Linked DNA regions of Homo sapiens: region 1 is linked to region 2. The links are contacts of gene promoters, found by promoter capture Hi-C in human tissues and cell types (Jung and others, 2019). All regions are on one chromosome and are shown on one strand. Each heading gives the region's core, a stretch centred on a gene start or on the middle of the fragment in contact. The rest is flanking DNA. Distances are from core to core; before and after follow the strand shown.

Region 1 (5,099 bases), core at 2,010-4,509, 420 kb after region 2:
GCGAAACCGTAAATAACTCACAGGGTTCTGCATTCAACCTGCAGACTCTTATTAAGGTACAATTAGAGAGGGGGTTGTCAGGTGGGGGTTAAAAAAAAAAAAAGAGCGGGGGGGAGTCGGTATTCTTTACCTTATCTTTCTGAACAGGAAAAAGAATTAAACCCAAACCACCTAGTCAGGTTCAAAACAAGCTCCAAACCCAAGATCTTTTAATTCCCTCTAATAACTGCTTTCCACAGGGATGTAACTGGGGTCCCCTACCCCTGGGGCACAAAAAACCAATCAGCGCCATAAATTCCCTTTGCCTTCAACCCTCTCTCCCTTTTACAGGGGGGCAGGGTAGGGGGAGGGGGTGACCCAACATCAACACTTACACTCTACAGAAATATGCTGGCTTATTTCCTTTGTTTGCTCATGTTATACTTGATCAAGTGTGAACGATTAAACTGGTTTCATTAAAGGCAAGTGCATTCACGGCTAACATCCAACTTCAATGGCAACTGTAAGCATATTTTGCAAGAAAGAGGGCCTGTTTTTTTGCTTGAAATCTACCATCTCATTAACTTTTCTTTTGGGGGCAATAAAAAGGGCACTAGGGGTTTTTCAGGAGAATGTCAGAGCAGTTCAGAGATCTGATGCCAGACAAAAGAATATTTAGCGTTTCAACTCTACGATACAGTCTCTGCTAAAGAAAAAAATTCTGTTTCAACATTAAAGCAGCTATGACTGAAAATGTCTAATTAGCATTTTGACTATTACTTTATAATTGCTGTAAGAAGTATCCTTTGAAATCAAGTGATTACAAAAACAAGATCCTTTAAAGTCTCATTACTTCAAAATAGAAAAGATTTATATTTAAAAAAAAAGGGGGGGGTTAAAAACCTCAGAATTCTCAAAGTACATGAAAACTACCCACTTCTACTTGGAAAACCCTCGAGGCAAAACAGCAATCTTAGGTACTGAACACGAGGTAATTTTTAAACTGTCTTCGAACCCAAACACCTAGTAGAGAAAGCTATCTTTTTTGAAAGGGTGGTATGAGTCGATATATTTCGCCCAAGTTAGAAAGGCAGAAAGAATCACTTTGTAAACTTCCCCAAAATATAACGTCCCCTCAAAATTATCCATGTCAGATAAAAATATACCAGTCTCTAGAATATCCAACAGAATTGCAAATAAGGCGTTTAGCATTTTAAATTCCCAATGCATATTTATAGAATAGAATTCTCTTGTCTATCCTTCCAGCCACTCGCATCAGACTCTCTAAGAACTTAACCCGATCTCCAATCTTTAAAGAAAAAAGGGGGTAAATACACAGAAGGATTGTTTACCCCGGACAGGGCAAGGAAGCCCGGTATGACGACGTAGGCCATTGCCAGCAGCCTCCACCACGAGCACGCAGAGCGGGGATTTCTACGAAAAATTCCTCCTCTTCCCTATAAAATCCTAAACGTGGGGTCCTCTGCAGCCAACTGCCGCTTGGGCCGCCTCCGGAAAAAGTACCGGGCGGGGGGAGGGGGGACAACCACAAACACTCGCGCGCACACGCTCACTCCGTGTCCGCGACCGTCGTCGCCGGCGGAAAGCGAGCCACGGGAGGGAGTGTGTGCGCGCGTGTGTGTCTCGGCGCGGCCCGCGGTGACCGAGCTGAGCTCTTGGGCCCGCGGCCTCCGAGCCCCAGGGCGCGGCGTGGGCTGCAGGCGACCCGCCACGCCGCTGGGCCTCCCGCGGGAGAAAGGCCCAGGCACGCCCCGGCTCCCGCGCGCCTCTGCCCAACTCGCCCGGGGCGCTGGGGGCAGCGCGAGGGAGAGAAAGAAAGGCGCTTCCCCTCGGCCGCGCGGGGCCGTCCGGCGCCGCGGAGGGCTGGGAGGAGGAGGAACCGCGGCGGCCCGGCTGTCCCTGCGCCGCACCGGGTCCCTGCCGCCCGGGGCGCGCCCTAGCCAGCCCCTCCTGCTAAACTTTTTCTTTTTGATTCGCCCCACCCGAAAAGTGCGGCCCGGGCGGGGAAGGTGGGGGAGGCGGGCGGGCCGGGCTCCCGGCGGCGGCGGGCGAGGAGGAAGTGGTGCCCGCGGGAGCGCGGCCGGGCAGAGGAAATGCCCGGCCCGCCCGGCCCCCGCCCGCGCCCGCCGCCCGGCCCGCCCAGGCCCCCCGCCCCGCCGCGACTTTGGCGGGCCGAGCCCCGCGCGGCAGTGGCGGCGGCGGCAGCGGCAGCAGATGTGGCCCGGCTGCCCGGAGGAGCCAACAATGCGGGGCCGGCAAAACAAAAGGGTTCCACTTCGCCTCCTTTCCCGTCTTTCACTTGCGCTCCCGGGGAGCCGCGCGGGATCCCCCGCCGGCAGGGGCAGCGCCCCTGGGGACCGAGAGCCGCTCACGCCCCGACTTCCCCACGGAACCCCTCTTCTCCGCGCCCCCCCCACCCTCGCCTCGTAGGCGCAAGGCCCGCCGCACCCCGGCGCGCTCGGACTCCTGTTCCCCGGAGATCCGGCCGTATTGTCCCCGCGGCGCGTCGCGCGCTCGGCCTGGGTCGCCGGCGGCCCCCGGGCGCGCACCCACCGGGCTCAGGGAGCAGGAGCCGGGGGCGCCCAGGGAACCGTCGCCGAGACGCCGCCGCCGCCGCCGCCGCTGCCCTCCGGACGCCGCCGCGCTCGGGGTTTCTTTTTTTTTTTTTTTCAACCCTGATGGGAAGGAAGGTGACCGCCTACTTCGCATTCATCAACTCTCATCACAACAACAAAAATCCTGGCGCAAACGGCGGCCAGCGGGCGCAATCGGTGGCGGGGGCGGGCGGGGACCCCCGAGCCAGCGTCCACCCCCGGGCGCCGAGGGGGGACACGAGGCCGGGGGCACGGACCAAAGATGTCCTCGGATGCCGGCTCCGCGTCCTTCGCCCTCTTCCTCCTCCTCCTCCTCCTCCCTGAGTGGCGCAGTGAGGCGCGGGCGCGGCGCCCCCAGCCCGCGGCCGCAGGTGAGGCGGGGGCGGCGGCGGCCCCAGCCCTCCCCCGGGGCCCCCCTTACCTCGTCCCGGACGGTCGGCGTCCACGGCGAAAGGCGCCCACCCTGGAGGCGGCGGCGGCGGCGTCTCCCGCCCCTCCCACCCCACCCGGCGGCGGTGGCGGTGGCGGCGGCTGTGCGGCCCCCCCTCAGCGCGGCATGGCTCCCGGTTCGGTCCCTCGCTCCTCGGGCCGCCGCCGGCTCCTCCGGGCCGCTCCCGAGCCACCTTAAAATGACACACGCACACAGGGACACACACACAAAAACTTAATCTCTCCAGCTCCCCGCCCCTCCCCCTCCCGCCCTCCCCACCCTCCCTCCGCTCCCCTCCCCTCCCCACCCTACCCCTCCCTTCCCTTCCACCTCCTCCCCTCGCCGCCGAGCCTCTTCCTACTTCCCCACCCACCCCACCCCCTTCCTCCGCCCACCCGGTTCCCAATTCCCCCCGCGTCCCGGCCCCGCGCCCTCCCGCCCGCCGAGAGGGGGCTGCGCTGGGGGTCCCCGGCCCGGGCCCGCCCCGCGCCGCGCTCACCCCCGAGAGGATGCTAATTCCAACTTGGATCGGGGGAGGGAACGTCCTGGATGCCGAGCGCCTCCCGGCTATTTGCTCTTCTTTATTTGTTTTCTCCTCCGGGGAAGGAGAAGGAAAACGGAGAGAAAAGGAAAGGAAAGAAGCGGCGCTGGCCGCAGCTCCCGGTACCCGCTGGCTGCGCAGGAGCTAGGCGGGAGGCGAGGTGAGGGTCGCCGCTCGCTCACTCCTCGCTCCTGTTTTTGGGGGGGGGGGGCAAAGGCGGGGTCTCTTTTTGCAAACCAATGACACAACCCCACATGGGCCGGCCTCGCCCCCTTCAGATACTCCTCACTACAAATCGGCTCTCTCGGGGGATTAGTGGCTCCGCGAAAGTGCACACAAGCGCGGCGGGCGGGAGGGCCAGGGGCCGGGCGCGGCGGGCACTCCCTAGCCCGGCCCCGCCCGGGAGGCCCTCGGGAGGCGCGGGGGCCTCGGTGGCAGGGGCCGAGGTCCTGTCGCGGTGGCTCGGGGTCCGCTGCTCCCCTGGCCCTTCATCCTCCTCCGCCCCTTCCACGTGGGGTACCGGGCAGCCGGCCACGTGGGGGAACGCGAGCCCCGGGTGGCCCCGGTCCCATGGGGCCCCGCCCAGCCAGCGGCGCCAACCAGCCCCCTTCCCGGCCCCCGGGCTCCAACTTCCTCCTGGTGCCCCGCACCGGCCGCTTCTGCCTTCTCAGGCCCGCGGGGTCAGGCGCGGGCCGGCCACAGGGGGCACTTGCGCTCCCCAAATCCAGATCCGGGAGACCGTGCCGGAGAGGCGGCGACCGCTGTGGGTGCGCAGGGAAGGGCCCTCTGTGCTGCAAGTTGCAGCAGTGCTGTGCCCTAAAAGAAGCAAAACATTCTTACACATTGAAAAAAAAAAAAAAGGTTCCCTCTTGCTGCCTGGATCTCGCCGGGGCATTTGAGAAGCCCTGTGTTGGGTCGGAGCCCCGGGTCTCGAGGAGGGAGGCGCGCTGCGGCGTGGGGGCCCGCGACTCGGGGTCCTGGGCTTGCGCGGCGGCCCGGAGCCCACGCCGTCCTGACGTCTCAAGGTTGGAGTCTGCACAGCGAGCCTGGGAATCCAGGCCCAGCGGCCGCTCGCGGCCCAACGAGCACCTGGGCTAAATTCCCCGCCCGTGACCCGCGACGTCCGAGCGCCGTCTCCGGAAGGGAGCTGGTGGCCGTGGAGTGTGGGGTCTTCTCCCTGCGCCCCAGGGCCCCCCAAACTCTTCTCACTACCCTGAGTTCGGCGTGCGTCCTCCAAGAATCCCTGGGTGGGCTGAACTGAGCCCTTAGGATCGATTTGTTTAAAAACCCTATTGAGATATTAGGAGCTGGATTGAGATGTCGAGCAGGAAAGGAGTGGGAGGGGTCTGAGGTCCCGCCTTTGGAGGCCGCAGGGACCGCCATTCCGCGAACCCAGCCGCGCGGTGTGGTCTCCTCCATCCCTGAGTGCCCCGCGCCCTGCAGAGCCGAGGAAACTTACAGCCAGGGCCAGGGGGCCGGAGGAGAGGCCACCGAGCTGCACGACCCTTTTCTGCATCCCAAAGAGCGTTGCTCC
Region 2 (5,420 bases), core at 2,071-4,570:
CTGGGGTTTGCAAGGACTAGTTCATCTATTAGTCTTCCCCTTGCTGGATCAATTAAAGAGAGTCCCTCCACATCTGGTTTCCATCGAAAACCGAAACTTGTATTATCAGCATATTACATAACAAATTATGCCTGCAGGTTTCTTTTATTACACATCAGAGAGGTGTGCGTGGTGGTGGTAATGATGGGGGTTGTGCCGATCTGAGTATTTGCTTATTTCAGTCTTTTTATTTAAGGACAAGAACAGAAGAGTTTTCCATACAATGCGCAATTTAACTGCAGAAAGTCACGCTGCCCAAATAAAACATCAACTGAACAATCTGAAGGTGGGCCCAGAACTCAGTCTTCAGGGCCCAAGGCATCGAGCGGTGGGTGAGAAGAGTGTGCTTTTTAAAAGAGCTCCGCAGCGTCCCCTGCTGCCAGCTCCTAATATTTAAACACAGCTCTCTCCTCTCTGGCCTCCAAAAGGGGAGGAGAGCAGGCTGGCCCTTCCTGAGCTTCAATCAAGGGTCAGGCGCCTGCTCACTGGACCCGCTTAAAGGAACCCAAGCCCACTAGGCTTCTGTAGAGAGGATGGAGAGGCTAGCGGGGCAGTGAGAGAATATATAAGGGGAAAGAGAAAGACTAAAAGATGGAAACAGAAAGAGCCCAGGAAATAATACCAGGACTTCCCATAAAATGTCAATTAAGCGTAACCACCACGGTGACAATAAGGTATCATAAAGCTCTTTCCAAAAGAACTTTGCGTACTTTCAAAATGCTATGTGCAACATACCCCACGTTGAAAAGAGAAGAGGGAAACTGATTTAAAACATTATGAACCAAGACAGTGGAATGCTCTCTACTTTGTCCTGAGAAGACTGGAACATTCAAGTCCACTTCTGCAGCAGTGAGGTTGCTAGTTTCTATTTAAAAACTTGTCTTTGATATCAAAATGACTGCACATGAATCTCACCTTCTCAGAAGAAAATAGGAAGTCGTTGGGCAACATTATTTGAATTTAAATCGCCTCGTTCTCTGAAGGAACGTTTGGAAGAAAAAAATACAGGCCTTCCCCACGCCTCTCCTTAGCTTTTTAACCTGAAAAAGCGCCTGGAAGCTGGATCGGCAGACTCCCAGGTCGCATGATGGGTGACAGCCAAGTGCAGACACAGAGTCAAGGGCTACCAATCCTGAGCCAAACCTTCTCCCACTGAATGGGACTATCAACTGGGACAAGTAGCTGTTTCTGTAGTCCACAGCTAGAGGCGGGGGAGGGGACCCTGTAGACCTGCAATTCAATATCAAAACTGTAACTGACACAAGTTACTCTTAAATAGATAAATTAAAATGAAACAAAAACCTGGCCTAATAAGGAACAGTGAGTTTCACCTGGTCGGCTGACTCCATTCCTTCCCAAGTCCTCAAACCAGGTGGCATCTTTTAAACGAGTCCAGGATCTGGAGCAAGGAGGAATCTCCCTGCCAGCCGGTGGGGACTGCTGGGAACACATATGCTAGCATGTCATTTGGAAGTCTGCTAATATGTTGTAAGCAGCACAAGACGCTTGCCTGGCTTCCCAGGCCAATAAACAATGCCATTCCAACTCCTGCAGCAGTCAATAGGAAACAGTCCCTTTTCTCCACCATCCAACAATTGAACAAACATTTGTTCCTGTTGAACAACCGTCAGCCTGGCTCCATCTGCACCCGCTCCTGCAAGGCGAGCGCGGCGGCGAAGGCGACGGCACAAATGCCCACCCCAGGATCCCAGACCCGGAATGCAAGCCATTCCGGGGGCCACTTTCCTAACACCACCGAGTCCGGAGATTGTACCGTATGGAAGACTCGGAGTGTGGCCTATAGGAGGCAGAATCCCATTCATCAAACGCTGCAAAGAGCTTTTCTTTGTTCACCATCGTCCTAAGTACAGTACGTGTTAATGAGCCCGGGCGGTCAGATGGAAGGAGCTCGGCTTCAGGGGGCGTCCGAACGCGAGGGACCCGGGCAAACCTGTCCGCGCGGTTCGTCGCTGCTGCGGCGCCCCGGCCCGTACTACAAGCATTGTTCCCCAAGTCCGAAAATGGGGGTGGAGAGCTGGGGGCTGGGGGACAAGGTGGGGGGGCGGGGGGAGCGAGAACACACTTGGGACAACACAAACCGCAAACCCTCCCCGGATTCTGGGTGTCCTCGTTTCTTTCGTCTCTGCCCCAAGAGAAACCCTGAGCGGGGAACCTGACTCCCACGGGCTTGCAAAATCCAAGACTAGCAAAAATGTGACTCGACCAGTGTGCCTGTGCCGGACGGCCCTTCTCGCCATGTGCAAAAGCCACGCCGGCGCGGACGCCCCCACTCCGCAAGCCCCAGCGGTGGCCTCCCCGCGGGCTTCCCCCGCCCGGGACAGAATGCCCCCTCACCCCCATCCTGACCGCCCCGGACAGTCCAGCAGCAGCGGAGCCCGCCGCCTCGCTCCCGCACCCCGGGGGTGGCGGGTGCAAACTTCCGCGAACAAAAGAGTTGTCTGCAAACGATGCGGGAACTTCGGGGCGAATGGGGCCGCCCGGCTCCCGAGACTCCGCGCCTCCTCCGCAGCGGCTAGTCAGGGCTCAAGTTGAGACGCGGAGAGGACACCCCCGGGCGCAGCAGTCCCCGCGCCCGCCCGCCCTGGCCTGGGGAGCGCAGACTTTTCCGCCGCAGCCAGGCTTGTTCTTCCCCATGCCTGTGCTCTGACAAGTCTCACGCCTGCATCAGGGGCGAGACCGAGCGCCCGGAGAAACCGCCCGACCCAACCCAAAGGCGAAACAAGGCAGAAAAAAAGGAAACCAGCAACATTAGGAAAAAAGAAAAAAAAAAGGCAAGCCCATTGCGCACGCGAGCCGGGCTCCCTCCAGCCAGCGGCCGGGACGCACACGGCCCGGACCTCGCTCGGGGCCAGCCCCCCGGCCACCGCCGCCGCCGCCCGGCCCCGGGTCGCTTACTGTGCGCGGCGGGGCGCTCCGGGCGCGGACCCCGCGCCGTCACCGCCAGCGCTCGCCAAGTCGTCCGGGGTGCCCGCCGCGCGTCCGCCGCGCGCACGCTCGCCTGCCGGCGCCGAGCGCTTTGTACGAGCGACTCCCGGGGAGGAGGAAATCGACTTGTCACTTCCTGAAGTGTTTGCAACTCGTCCCTTTAACCGGCACCGGCCAGGCCGCCCGCACCCGCCGCCGCCGCGGAGCCGCCAGACCGCGGCTGCGTGAACTCGGCCCGGCGCTTAGCGGGCGGTGTCGCGGGCCCGGGCGCTAGGCGCGGCGGCGGCGTGCAGGAGGCAGGCGGCGTGCGGCGGCGGCGGCAGGCGAGTGTGCAGTGCGCGCAGCCGCCGATGGGCGGGGAGTGAGGGACTCGCGGCGCGCCGCCGGCGGGGCTAGAGGGCGTCCTGCGGGCTCAGCCGCGCGCCGCTCGCCGCGCTCGCGCCTGCGAGGCCCCGGGACGCGGGAAGTGGCCCCGGGCCTGGGCCGCGCCACCGCGGCTGCCCGGGCCCCGCGCCAGAGGCCCTACGGGCTTCTCTCCCCGCCCCCAGCACGAGCCGGGATGAAAACGCTGGGCCGCATAGGCTTCAGGCGTCCAGCTTCCGGGTTGTTAGATGCCGAGGTTCAAAAGAAACGATCACTTCAGTGGCGTGCAGGACAGCGGGCGGGTGGGGTCGGGGAGGGGGGACCTTAAAGTGTTGTCACACTTTGGGAAAATAAAGCGCAAATTTCCTAACTCGGGGCGCTGTGACTGTGTACTTCAGAAGCCACATCCAAAATACATGCAACTGGCGAAGGAAGGATTTGTGGTTGCTAAGCAGAGGCAGAGCATGTTTAGTTCTGTAACTTAGGATGTTGACTTAAGTTCAGGAATGTAACCCTGATAGAATAAGCAGAGTATTTTCATTGTGCTGCTCACCTGGGGGAGGGGGATTGTTTTCCTTGTGAAGCCCTAGATTTCCCATTACTCCTTCCTACTGGTGTATGTTATTTTATTGACCTTGTATCCAAAAAGCGATTTTTAAAGAGAAGTTTTTTTAAAACTCCCTATGCCTGTTTTGTGTTCTCCTTTGCCAAAAAAACAAAACACCTCATTACTTTACATGGATTGTGTCTGCGCCATTTGAATGGTTCTATTCATAAATAAGGAAACTTTTTCTGTTGCTTCTAGGAACATTTAATTGGTTTTAATCCAATGTTTCAATCCCAGTATCAAACATAAATGAACAATTAACTTCTTGAGCTTTGTGTGCTTGGGAAACTATTATATTTCATGGCTATTGCTGAAATATTTCAGAATATCATCACACCGGACCCATTCTTTTCAGAAAAGCATGAACTGACATCTCCTTTCACACTACAGCTCGCTCCACTGAGTTCTGCTGCATGATTAGAATGGACAGCAATCAGTGGAAAGGATATGAGTCTATTCATTTCAAGTTACATGATGTGGGATAGAGTCAGTTCATCCTAGAAAGCCAAAATGAGCTAACATACAGAATACAGCATACTAAGATATTGATATCCTTACCCATATACGTTGCTTTTTAAAAATGCATTAAGGACCAATCTTGAAAGGAACAAGATCCAAGAACCGATGGTGAACAAAAGAAGGCCCAAGGAATAATCTAAGAATGCTGCTATGCTTAACGAAAAGAGTCAGTGTTTCCCTAAAGCCATCTGATATCACACAATCACCTCAGCCTTTCAGAGCTTTAAGGACAGAGTTTAATTTACTAACGTTTTATTAGGAAGCCTAGAGTGACTCCTGCTGGCAAACATTCAGTTTATTCCTACAATTACTAGTTCATCAGGTCAACTTAAAAAACAAGATGCAGGGTCCCAGGCCTGGAAACAATTATTACAACCATTATTCTTGTTGCTTTCAGGATGATTTGCGTTTCACATTCCAAGGATGGTGGTCATGGCCAGTTCCTCTGCTGTAACACCTCCTTTCCAACCTAAAGCAGCCTGTTTTTCTGGTTCTGAGGCTTTCTTGAGGCTGTCTAGAATATACTTGCTTAAGAAGTTATGCTATTAACCAATAAATAGTTACTTCTCATTTTCTAGATTTGTATCTCCAAAGGCTAAAAAGATATGCATACATTAAGACCTGTGTCACACTTAACCTTCCATACTATAGGTTCTTCCCACATGATATAATAATCCTACAGCTATATTATAAAACATCCTCACTTCTTAGTGCTCAGCTCCATAGTTCTTTACTAAGAAAAAATTCTACCCAAAAGGTTGTTGTTATATTAGAGTTCTGCTCAATTCAGAAGAGTAGCTAAAAATGTAGAACTCTAGATTTAAAGCTATGTAAAAGCTGCAATGGGGTGGGGACATGGAGCTAAACTGTCTATCTTTGTTCAATCCAAAATGGTCAAAACCAGATTTTGCACACAACCAGACACCTAAATGCAAATTCATAGGCC

The links. The method cuts DNA at HindIII sites, captures the fragments that hold promoters and counts their contacts. A contact is called where the count stands out against the background at its distance.
Region 1: a contact is called between the fragment with the promoter of CTBP2 here and the fragment with the promoter of FAM53B in region 2, in 1 of the 25 tissues and cell types used here (hippocampus).

What each region holds. Positions count from the first base shown.
Region 1 is chr10:125,157,304-125,162,402 of GRCh38, forward strand. CTBP2 (C-terminal binding protein 2) reads right to left here and starts at 3,260. Exons shown (of 11, transcript NM_001329.4): 1 at 3,016-3,260. RefSeq lists an enhancer at 4,031-4,640. The HindIII fragment of the contact is 19,174 bases long and covers 1-5,099 here.
Region 2 is chr10:124,741,058-124,746,477 of GRCh38, forward strand. FAM53B (family with sequence similarity 53 member B) reads right to left here and starts at 3,321. Exons shown (of 5, transcript NM_014661.4): 1 at 2,956-3,321. RefSeq lists an enhancer at 203-322 and silencers at 2,200-2,279, 2,370-2,579, 2,900-3,059, 3,110-3,219, 3,240-3,289 and 1 more. The HindIII fragment of the contact is 11,231 bases long and covers 1-5,420 here.